Linked DNA regions of Homo sapiens: regions 1, 2 and 3 are each linked to region 4. Evidence: promoter capture Hi-C in 16 types of primary human blood cells and fetal thymus (Javierre and others, 2016). All regions are on one chromosome and are shown on one strand. Each heading gives the region's core, a stretch centred on a gene start or on the middle of the fragment in contact. The rest is flanking DNA. Distances are from core to core; before and after follow the strand shown. Region 1 overlaps SLC10A7 (solute carrier family 10 member 7). Region 2 overlaps TTC29 (tetratricopeptide repeat domain 29). Region 3 overlaps REELD1 (reeler domain containing 1). Region 4 holds the start of POU4F2 (POU class 4 homeobox 2).

The links. The method cuts DNA at HindIII sites, captures the fragments that hold promoters and counts their contacts. A CHiCAGO score of 5 or more calls a contact.
Region 1: a contact is called between a fragment that was not itself captured here and the fragment with the promoter of POU4F2 in region 4, in 4 of 17 cell types (naive CD8 T cells, total CD4 T cells, activated CD4 T cells and 1 more). The highest score is 5.9, in naive CD8 T cells.
Region 2: a contact is called between a fragment that was not itself captured here and the fragment with the promoter of POU4F2 in region 4, in 1 of 17 cell types (megakaryocytes). The highest score is 5.6, in megakaryocytes.
Region 3: a contact is called between a fragment that was not itself captured here and the fragment with the promoter of POU4F2 in region 4, in 1 of 17 cell types (erythroblasts). The highest score is 6.0, in erythroblasts.

Annotation. Positions count from the first base shown.
Region 1 is chr4:146,324,333-146,327,032 of GRCh38, forward strand. SLC10A7 (solute carrier family 10 member 7) reads right to left here. Exons shown (of 12, transcript NM_001029998.6): 6 at 1,629-1,664. Among named protein-coding and RNA genes, the nearest start is that of MIR7849, 83 kb to the right of the region's middle. The HindIII fragment of the contact is 219 bases long and covers 1,244-1,462 here.
Region 2 is chr4:146,908,236-146,911,040 of GRCh38, forward strand. TTC29 (tetratricopeptide repeat domain 29) reads right to left here. Exons shown (of 13, transcript NM_031956.4): 5 at 791-1,014. Among named protein-coding and RNA genes, the nearest start is that of TTC29-AS1, 24 kb to the right of the region's middle. The HindIII fragment of the contact is 4,949 bases long and covers 1-2,805 here.
Region 3 is chr4:146,228,985-146,231,757 of GRCh38, forward strand. REELD1 (reeler domain containing 1) reads left to right here. Exons shown (of 8, transcript NM_001354631.1): 7 at 41-104; 8 at 921-2,773. The coding sequence ends at 1,529. Among named protein-coding and RNA genes, the nearest start is that of REELD1, 16 kb to the left of the region's middle. The HindIII fragment of the contact is 1,168 bases long and covers 673-1,840 here.
Region 4 is chr4:146,637,613-146,640,327 of GRCh38, forward strand. It overlaps POU4F2 (POU class 4 homeobox 2), which reads left to right and starts at 1,281. Exons shown (of 2, transcript NM_004575.3): 1 at 1,281-1,816; 2 at 2,255-2,715. The coding sequence starts at 1,529. RefSeq lists enhancers at 1-216, 217-798, 799-1,379, 1,380-1,961. The HindIII fragment of the contact is 9,518 bases long and covers 1-2,715 here.

The sequences.
Region 1 (2,700 bases), core at 103-2,602, 310 kb before region 4:
CATATGGAACCAAAAAAGAGCCTGCATTGCCAACTCTTTGGTTCTTTAATCACAAGTCAAAAAAGGGTCTCAGAGATTCCAGCCTCTGAGATACTCCAAGATGTTACAACCTAGGCCTCAGCCACCTAATTGTGGCTGTAACATCTCCCCCGCTCTTCTTAAATGAGTTACATGAGTAAGAGATGTCTCTCTTCCATAATGAAGAAAACCCAGGTGATGCAGCCATTCATTGTGCACTTACCAGATGCTGAGCTCTATACTAGTCCCTTGACCTACTGCAAGTGGGGACCTCAGACAGGCCTGCATCCTGTGCCCACCAAGGGTTGCATCTGGGAAACTGTCCTGTGATCCCAGGTCTTGGAAATAAACTAATGGATGATTCCAGTTTCTCACATCTAGTAGCAGGTAGTTACATAATAAGTCTTTTCTTCCAAATTAATGCAAATAGTCTCTTTGGTTTCAATTTAACTAACTGAAAATTCTGCGTTGGTGAAGTCCATGTCAATGAAGTTTGTTATGCTGAGGAAAGTGATCTGATTATTTGACTCTTCTTACCTTGTCAAAATGGAGCCAGCATTTCAAAAGGGAGGGTAAGGATGAGGTTTATTACTTGAAGGTAATGTCTTTCATGAAAGATGTGGAATCCAACTGTTTAGTAGTATATCTATCCCTCCCTATTTCCTACTCAGCGGGTAAGAAATGAAGTCCCTCATTCTATTACTCTAATTGAATTCCAACTTGGGTAATTATACTACAATTAAATAAATTTTCCCCATAGTTTTAATTCACTGATAAATAGTGTTAGTCAAACAGCTACATTACATTCCCAGAAACACATCCCCACTACATTTCAGTGATAAGCAGAGTGATTTATATTTGGAAGATGTGTGTATGAAAAGATGCACAGTTCATAAAATATTTTAGGTATCATTCATGATTACATATGCCTTGCTCAGCATGAGATAACATTAATTTCTATTATAATCTTTCATCTAATTTCTCATATGCTTAGTGCCAAAAGAAATAAGACAGCTAATTAGCATTTCTTGTTTTCAGAACAGTTTTTGTTTAGTTAACTAGAAGCGTGTATTGATTTGTATTTTTAATTTTTAAAGCACCTTTCATTATCTCTGGGCGATAGAATGGAGGAGGTGTTACTTCCCATTCTACAGATGAAAAAAATTGAGGCAGCCTTCCCCAAGGTGAGGAAGCTAGTTATCATCAGTATCAGCCTTGGAACCCAAGCTTCCTCTGATCCCTGGTCCTAGGGCTCTTTCTGTTAAACACTATCAAACACTGGGTCACTATCAATCACTTTAGTTTTACTAATGAGAAAATAAAGAGCAGCGCAGTTTTTGTAACCTGTGTCATGGGGTCATTTATTTGTAATATAATGATTTAGCCAGGAGCTGGAGGCCTAATGACTGGGTCCTGATCCTGTTCTTGGATCATGAAATTATGAAGCTTCTTCGTATCTGAATATTATTATGCGGTACAGCTAAACTGGAACAACAATTCCAAATATGGTGCAAAATAATTCAAATTTCATTTTTGTTCTAATGACCTTTCTTAAAGGGTTGTAGATAGCTTTTAATAAAATATATTAAAGACAACATCAAAATACTCACAAAAAGCAGCAGGAGCAGGGGTGTTATAACGATGCCCTGAAAGAAATAAAAGAGAGGATGATCATTTATCAGCCTGGAAAGCAGGACACTTTCTTTGCCATTTTAAACTCTGAGGCATAGGAGTGCTTATCTTCTCACTGCTGTTTAATAAAATCTAGGAGATAAAGAGGGGAGAGTCCCAATCTTAGCTTTCTCTTCCATAATAACATCTCTATTACAATTATTTGTATTTGGCAGCCTGAAAGCACAACCACCAATCTGCCTTAGGTTCATCTTTCCTTTTGTAAACCTAAATTCCCTTCCACATTGCACGTGGATCATACAGATAGAAGCTGGTGGCTGGCAAGCTTCCTCACTCCAAGGCTTTCAACTCTAACTTGGATAAAATGCCCCTTTTTGAGAGAAGACAGGTGGTTTAGTCCCAGTTGGGGTCCTCTCCTGAGCAAAGACCACGTCAGTTGTGATGAATGAGATGTCATGATTTTGTAATGTGAACTGGTCTCCCCTAGGAAATGAGCTGGGATCTCAAAACTCATTTCACTTGATTAGACTTCATGTCTCCATGGTGGAAGGCAAGTCTTTCATCTAATTCAGCCACATAGGACCACCTCGGTCCCTCTGCCTCCCCTAGGCAGAAATGAGCAAAAGATTTGTTTTCTTCGATGACAGGGAACAGTTTGAGGCTGTTGCCAATGAGGCAGAATACCAGCTTTTAGGTTTCTTGAAGGCAAATCTTTAAAACTAAGTGTTTGAGTTGGGAGTTGTAATGACAGGCTTCAGTTTTGGAGCAGCAGATGATTATTTGCCCGTTTTAGTTTTTCCTTTGTCTCTCAACATTTCATTATGATTTATACCAGAAAAAACATTTCAGATTTTTATTAATGAATTCTACTTGGAATTTTAAAATTTCAGAGAATCTGAGGTTGTGCGTGCCTAAGACAGAAAAGAGAGGGACAGACACACACACACACACACACACACACACACACACACACACACACACACACAGAAAAAGAGAGAGAGAGAGAGAGAGAGACAGATAGACAGAGGTACTATATATCCAGACAGTGTC
Region 2 (2,805 bases), core at 262-2,761, 270 kb after region 4:
TTTCCCCAAAAAATTTGGAGAAAAGAATAATTTAGAATACCAAATTTACATGCCAAATTCTAGAATTTCATTTTTTTATTTGATTATAGATGACTAGTTAAAATGACCAGTTCCTAATATGTAACTAAGAAATATTTATGACAACAATATCAGTATAATTAGTGTAGAAATGAAAATATTTAATACTTGGAATGTATACTAACTTTCTGGAAAATTTTGAAATACAAAAAATGTATTAGAAATGATGTCATGGAAAATATAAAATTGACAATTTTATTTGCAATTGTGAATTGCAGGATTTTCATGTCTTTTTACTATTTACAAAGATAAATTCTCTGATTCAAATCAGTAGGACTTCTTGACCCAAACTTCAAAGTCCACTATCTAAACTTAGGAAAATCAGTGTGATTTTCAAGTTATAGTACTCTTTGAAAGTATCTCCTCTATGAAAGTCAATATTCAGATTACGTATACAGAAAAACTGTAGAAAGGTTTAAACCTAATGATAGGAACTATGTTAATTCATGGGGGAAGTTCTGGAGATATTATTAGGTGCTATGTGTTGTCTTCCCTGGCTCGGAAGGACATCACCAGAATGCCCCCGTGTCTGGGCAGCCTCGTGATCCAACATTCCCTTTCCTTAATTCCATAAAGACGTTTAATTGACTGGGTTGAAGTGTGCTAAGTTGTCTTAATGTTTCAAATTCATACATGAAACAATCTGGAATCTTCCCCCAGGAGCTCGGTGTTCTGGCTCCTTCTGTGCTCTGCCCACAGTCCCACCACTTACCTTTCCTCTCAGCGTCCTCAGCCCTGGTCAGGTAATGGTACAGGTAATCCAGTTTATCAGGCTGCTCCTCCAGGGGCTTCTGCAGCCAGAAGAGGGACCTGACTCTCGCAGCCTCCCTCAGGGCATCCCACCGCTCCATCAGAGCGAAGAGCTCGGTGAAGGACTTATGATAACCATCTCGCAGCATGTCCACACAGATATTCTTCTTGTAGGAGTTCCTATAACTGGAAATATGAATCAGAACACTCTCAGGTTTATGTTAATCCTTTCAGTCTGCACGGTATTTTCATTCTCTAATAATTAAAGGTTGAATCATGTTGCCTTTTATCCCTCAGTGAAAGCACTGAAAACTATCAAAAGATCTTTGCCTCAAACACTTATAATTGAACAACTTCTGTTTAATGAAAGATGCCAGGAGCTATCTAAACACAGTAATTTTAATGAAATTACATTATAAACATATCAGTTCCAGAGCTGAGCTCCATTTGATAAGGACAAATAAGCTAGTTGACTGATGAATATTAAAAAATACTTGATATATCAGCCTCCCACCAAAAAAAACCTCAACAAGTCAAGCAAAAATAAAACTTGCCATTTAATATCAAAACAATATTCTCTCTATATTAGTAGTTTCACTGTATGTTACAGAAGTTCATCATTCTTTCATTCATGCAGAAAATATTTATTGAAATCTATTACTAACTATATATTTTTTAATTACTTTCAGTTAGAATTAAGTTAATGATTAATAATTATATTCTCACTTCAATAATCAAATGCAAAAAGATAAAGTGACAAATGAATATTCCATTTAGTCAAGCGACAAATAGGTGCTGAGTTTCCTACTAAGTGCCAGGCGCTGTTCTAGACCAAATAGATTCCATACCCTTGTGACGCTTACATTCTAGGGGCAGAACATGACTAACAAATAAGTAAGCAAATGAGAAATAATTTCAAATCACGAAAATTTCTAGAAAGGAAATAAACAGAATTGTGAGATAATAGCTGTGTAGTGGCTATTATTCCATTAAAAGAACAATTAGATACCAAAAGATATAGCTTTATACTAATTATATTATATTCTTTAAAAAAAAATAGGACAAACGACATGATGTGATACTACTGGCAACAAAAATTCACCGTGGAGTGGAAACAGCCCAGACCACCAAGATTGAGTCCAGTTTTGCCTCACCTCCCTGGGTCTCCAGTCTTCTCATCTCTAAGCTGTGTATATTAGTATATGCTACCTACATCATGGGATTCCTCTAGGAACCAAATGAAATTAGGTATGTGAGAATACTCTGGGAAATGTGAAATCTCACTGCTGCTTCTCAATTCCTCATTATGCATTAGATTCACCTACAGAGTTCAAAAAAACAAACAAATAACAAAACAAAACAAAGTGACTAGACTTGCATCTACCAAGGATTTCTTATCCATTGGATCAACTTAGGTAGAGAACAAACAAATGAGGAGTGGCAAGCAGGAGAGTGGTGAGACAGGAAGTTTAGAAAAAAAGGCAGGGACCAGATCATGAAGAGATCTTACGGTAAAAACAACAGTGAGAAGTTTGGACTCCAAGCTGGGAGGGAGGTAGAGCTATTGGAGATCAGAGTCAGGGAACTGACATGACGAGACTGCATTTTACAAAAGTCATCTGGAAGAAGTGTCCCAGCTGAACCGCAACCTTCCCCTATATGGCAGTCAGGTTGTTACAGAACTAGTTCGTAAAGAGAATAAAGAGACCACATGGATCCTAGGTCAAAAGATCAAATGCCAACATTTAGTATGAGAATAAGATATATTTGAAATGGGGAAGAGAAAAGGAATAGTGCTTGTTACTTATTCCTGTCCTCCAATTGCGATCGATAGAGGAGAAAAGTATGGAGAAAGGCAGTGAGATGCTTGGAGGGCCATGTTCTCTTTCTCTTTCTCACTCCAGTCAAATGGAGGGGCTCAGAGAGTAGAAAAGTCAACATCCTGTGAAATGCAGTGAGAGCCAAGAGTAGAAAACA
Region 3 (2,773 bases), core at 7-2,506, 410 kb before region 4:
CTTAATGACCTGTTTTCAGCCCTTCCATTCTTCCCTTTAGAACTCAGGATGATCCCAGCTTTGATTCACTGGAAACTTGCCTGTCCTCAGATGGGGGTGAACAGGTAAGAACCTGAACTGTGAAGTGGGCTTGTGACTGGTATTTTGATCCTAGAATGGTCAGTTTCAGGCTGGGAAATCAGAGCTATTAGACTAGTAGCCAAAGTTAGAGAGAAGAAGGCAAAGTACAATATACACACAGTGTCTTTCTACTAATCAATACCTTTCCATTATATGCAGTGTCTCTGAAGTGATCGGCAATTGTAGAAATTGATGTTTTAGTGACTTGTCTTCTCACTTAGCCACAGTTAATAATTACTCTCTTCTCTCCTCCTCTATCCCTCCTTCATAACATTGACCTCAAAATGCCATGTATGGTCCCAGAAGTTAGATCAATGGTCAATATAAAATATAAATGCCCACTGATTTACTATTCCTTTGAAGTCTTAGAAGGAACACAAAATAAAACAAGGTGTAATGTTCTTACTTACATTTCTCAGAACCTACAGTGAGGTTAAATGGTCCCTCTTGCATGGGTCCTATCATAAGAAGACACACTCAAATCTCTCAGCCATAGAAGATGATGCAATCACCCATTGATATTTTGGTTTGGAAGCCACTTAAAGGACCCTAAGCTTATTCTTGTAACTGGCTTCCTTGTTCTCTGTGGGGTTTCCATTAGCTACCCCATCCCCATCAATAACAAGTGCATTTGTATCTAGTTGGGCATTTTACTTTGAGCTCCTTTAGTAGCAAGAAAGAGACTGGGTTTTTAGCTGCCTCCTGGGAGTCTTTAAGGAACCCCAGTTAGTTACAAAGTTCAGTGGCAGCTTAGGAGGAAGACCAGTACCTTTGACTCTTTTTTCCCTTTGTTTTTCTAGGACAAGACGAAGGCCTCTAACAGGACCGTGACACAGCCTCCTCTGTCCACCGTCCAGCTTACCTATCCCCAGTGCCTCTGGTCCTCTGAAACTTTCACAGGGAATGGGGTCAGGGCAAGCAACCCAATCCCTGTCCTCCAGACCTCTGGCACTTCTGGGCTACCTGCTGCTGGTGACCAGTCAGAGGCATCCAGGGCCTCTGCCAGCTTCTTACCTCAGTCAAAGCACAAGGAGCTCAGAGCAGGGAAGGGAAATGGAGAGGGTGGAGTGGGATACCCTCGGCAGACCAACCCACGGCCTGACATTGGGCTAGAGGGAGCCCAGGCCCCTCTGGGTATCCAGCTCAGAACTCCTCAGCTGGGAATTCTGCTTTGCCTGTCAGCCACCCTGGGCATGGCCCTGGCCGCTGGCCTTCGCTACCTGCACACCCAGTATTGCCACCAGCAGACAGAAGTGTCTTTCAGTGAGCCCGCTTCGGATGCTGTTGCCAGGAGCAACAGTGGTGAGACTGTGCACGTCAGGAAGATTGGGGAGAACAGTTTTGTTTTGGTTCAAGCAGAGTACAACTGGATCACTCCTTCTGTGGGTAGCAAGAAAACAGTCCTCTGAGAAGACTGTCACCCCAGACCTCTCAGTGGCCCTCCTTGGGCCCTGGAGAGTGTCCCAGACAGAGCAGAGATAATGAGAATAACTGATGAAGACAGGGACTCATTGTGCCTCTGTCAATGTGCAGTTAGTGGAGGAACCCGGGAGAGGACACTTTCATCAACAGAGGGAGTTATTCCTGAGCTTTGTTGTCTTAACATCTGTAATTGGGCTTCCTTCTTTCTTTTTGCAATTAGACGTTCTGTTTGAAGACTTAAACTCAACACAATGAATATTGTATAACCCGCTCATTAACTAGACCCCTGTGGCCACTAAGCTTCCTCTGTTGTGGTAAGGAAGCCATAGAAATAAAAATACTGTCCCTCCTTAGTGTCTCATCTCTTCTAACTCTTTGGGGAAAAAAAGTAATGTTGGGTTGTGTCTCCTGCAAGAAAAAGAACTGCAGCTCTCACTTTGCCTTCCTAAACCACCCCCAAAGAAGTTTTCTTTTCAAAACTGAATTCAACAACTTGCTAGAGTTCTGATTTGGATGACTAGGTGAATGCAAGGGTATTTGGTCTTCTGGGCAACTCAGCAGCCTGGCAAATCCGCCATGGAAATTGATCCAAAGTCAGGAAAGTTTTTGAGAGCTTGATTGAACACATCTTCAGGAAAACATATACATGCAACACAAGGCCGTAAACACCAGAGTGGGGTAAGAAAGCCTTTTCATCAGGTGTAAATGGATCTGAGACCTCCCATCCATTTACACTTGATGGAAACATTCGTGTATCCCAACAGCTAGCAGACATAGTGCCTTTTGCCAAAGGTCAGGCTGAAAAACATTATTATACCAGCATAGTTTGAAGAACAGTCTTTACTTGTCTTTTCAGGGAATATCAGGAAGAAAGCTTCATGGATGAAGGTCATCTACCTGATCTCATAACCTTATGAAGATTGCTTTGATTTAACAGTGGCTCCACAGATACTATCTGAGGTCAAAACAACAGATCTGAATATAACTCTTAAATATGCTCACCTAATATAGCACATAGGAATTAGCTGCCTTTTCAGAGTGAAACCTATTATAGAGTCATCATTTTAATGCAGAAACAAAAATCACTACAAATTCGGAAAGGATATTTGTTTATTGAACACCTAATTCATACGGGAACTGTGCTAAGTAGTTTGCGTATATCTTCACATTTAACTCTCACAAAAATTTAATGAGGAATAAGTTCAGTAGCTTTCCAAGGAGAATGAGGCTT
Region 4 (2,715 bases), core at 31-2,530:
GAACCAAGAGTGTGTGTCCATCTCTAGGAAAAGTGGTCTGCACTGGGACTGGGACAGAAGTGGGAGTGAAGTGTCAGCTAAAAATAGGCTCCGCACCGAGAGGCTGTGGAAATGAAGATAAGTGAGGTTTGTGCCAGCCCCCGAGGGTGTGTGTGTGTGTGTCTGTGTTGTGGGGTGTATTCAGCAGCATATGCGCTGTGTAATTTCTGACCTTCCCTCTCCCTGTCAGTTGCCCCTTCTTCCTTTGATTGTGGCTAATGAAGAATAATAAATCCAGGGGCAGGGTTTGCCAGTGGATCCTTCCAAGACTCAACTCGAACTGTACTGGATACAGGGAGGAGGAGGAAGAGAAAAGGGGGGCAAGAGGAGCGTGTGTGTGTGCCTGTGTGTATGTGTGTGTGTGTTGTGGGAGGGGTGGGGACAGCGGGGAGGGGGAGGAGTCGCATGCGCACAGACGACCCGAGCCTGCTCCGCGGCTGTCCAATCCGCTGAGAGCTGCGAGAAATCGAGTGAGAGAAAGCCCTGCAGCCCCTCCGACCCCATGTCTCTTTGGCACCAGGCACCCGCCGGGCCGTGGGGGGCTCGTAGCCGAACGCCGACCTCCGCTCGTATTGGGCTGGGAGTTCAGAGCCGCGCGCAGAACCCGGGTTGGCCGCAACGTCTGTGTTCTCAGCGGTGGCCGGGAACCTGGGATCAGGGTCACCTGAGCTGACGGGGTGGGGGCGGGCCGAGTGGGGTTGGAAGCCTGGAACTTAGTGGTAAGCAGGAGGCGTAGGAGGTGGCAGCCAGGTAAGAGGCACTCTTACCTACCCAACGCTGGCTTGGGCCGCAACTTTATTTGGGAGTTTCTTTTTCCGGTGAGACAGAGACCCGGCAGAAGAAGCGGGAGGGGCTGGAGGCTGGTCCTTAGGTAGGCACTGCCCGGCGACTGGAGCGCGGACCTGGCCATTTGGGTGGGGTTGAGTGGGGGCGCGATTGTGAGTAGCAGCCGCGGGACGCTGCGAAGGGGCGGCGGCAACAGAGCACGGGCGGGGGCAGAAAAGAGGCGGCGGAGGGCGCGGTGGGGGAGCGCGAGGCGAGTGCTGAGAGAGCAGAAAGGACTCAAGCCTGAGGGGAGTAGAGAGGAAGAAGGGGCAACGCGAGAAACCGAACAGGAGCCGGCGTTTCCTGGCAAGGGAGGGCGGAGGCGCGCGGGAGAGAGGGAGAGAGGGAGGGCGGGGGGCGCGGGGGTAGGCGCGGGGAGAGGGGAGTATAACTCGCCGGCCGCGAGGAGCGGGGGCAGTTTCGGGTGCCGAGGTCTGCAGCTAGCGGCAAGCGGAGTCAGGCATCCGTTCAGACTGACAGCAGAGGCGGCGAAGGAGCGCGTAGCCGAGATCAGGCGTACAGAGTCCGGAGGCGGCGGCGGGTGAGCTCAACTTCGCACAGCCCTTCCCAGCTCCAGCCCCGGCTGGCCCGGCACTTCTCGGAGGGTCCCGGCAGCCGGGACCAGTGAGTGCCTCTACGGACCAGCGCCCCGGCGGGCGGGAAGATGATGATGATGTCCCTGAACAGCAAGCAGGCGTTTAGCATGCCGCACGGCGGCAGCCTGCACGTGGAGCCCAAGTACTCGGCACTGCACAGCACCTCGCCGGGCTCCTCGGCTCCCATCGCGCCCTCGGCCAGCTCCCCCAGCAGCTCGAGCAACGCTGGTGGTGGCGGCGGCGGCGGCGGCGGCGGCGGCGGCGGCGGAGGCCGAAGCAGCAGCTCCAGCAGCAGTGGCAGCAGCGGCGGCGGGGGCTCGGAGGCTATGCGGAGAGCCTGTCTTCCAACCCCACCGGTGCGTATTTCTGCATAATCACCGCTTAAAGGCACATTTTGACAGCCCCCTTTATCTGCTTGATGTTTTTTTCATGTCTGCACAGCAAATCACCCCACACCTCCAACCAATTTTCCCCTCTCTCTCTCTTAAGTATTCAGCAGGTCTTGCCTTTCATATTAATTTTTATGACCTGGGATGTTGCCTGTGCGCGTGTTGTGTTGTGTTTCGTTGTGTCTACAGGCTCACTTTCCTCCTCCTCCTGCACTCTCGGCTTCTTTCTGTGGCTTCCCTCTTTTTCTCTTCACCTCTGTTTTCAGGATTATTATTATTATTATTTTAACGATCTGGGAATGTTGTAGGCGCGGCGACGGTGTCGAGCCCTGGGCCGGGGCTTCCGGAGAGAGGGCGTACAATTCCCTGCTGAGCGTAATGTGTGCCTTCTACTTACAATTGCAGAGCAATATATTCGGCGGGCTGGATGAGAGTCTGCTGGCCCGCGCCGAGGCTCTGGCAGCCGTGGACATCGTCTCCCAGAGCAAGAGCCACCACCACCATCCACCCCACCACAGCCCCTTCAAACCGGACGCCACCTACCACACTATGAATACCATCCCGTGCACGTCGGCCGCCTCTTCTTCATCGGTGCCCATCTCGCACCCTTCCGCGTTGGCGGGCACGCACCACCACCACCACCATCACCACCACCACCACCACCAACCGCACCAGGCGCTGGAGGGCGAGCTGCTGGAGCACCTGAGTCCCGGGCTGGCCCTGGGCGCTATGGCGGGCCCCGACGGCGCTGTGGTGTCCACGCCGGCTCACGCGCCGCACATGGCCACCATGAACCCCATGCACCAAGCAGCGCTCAGCATGGCCCACGCGCACGGGCTGCCGTCGCACATGGGCTGCATGAGCGA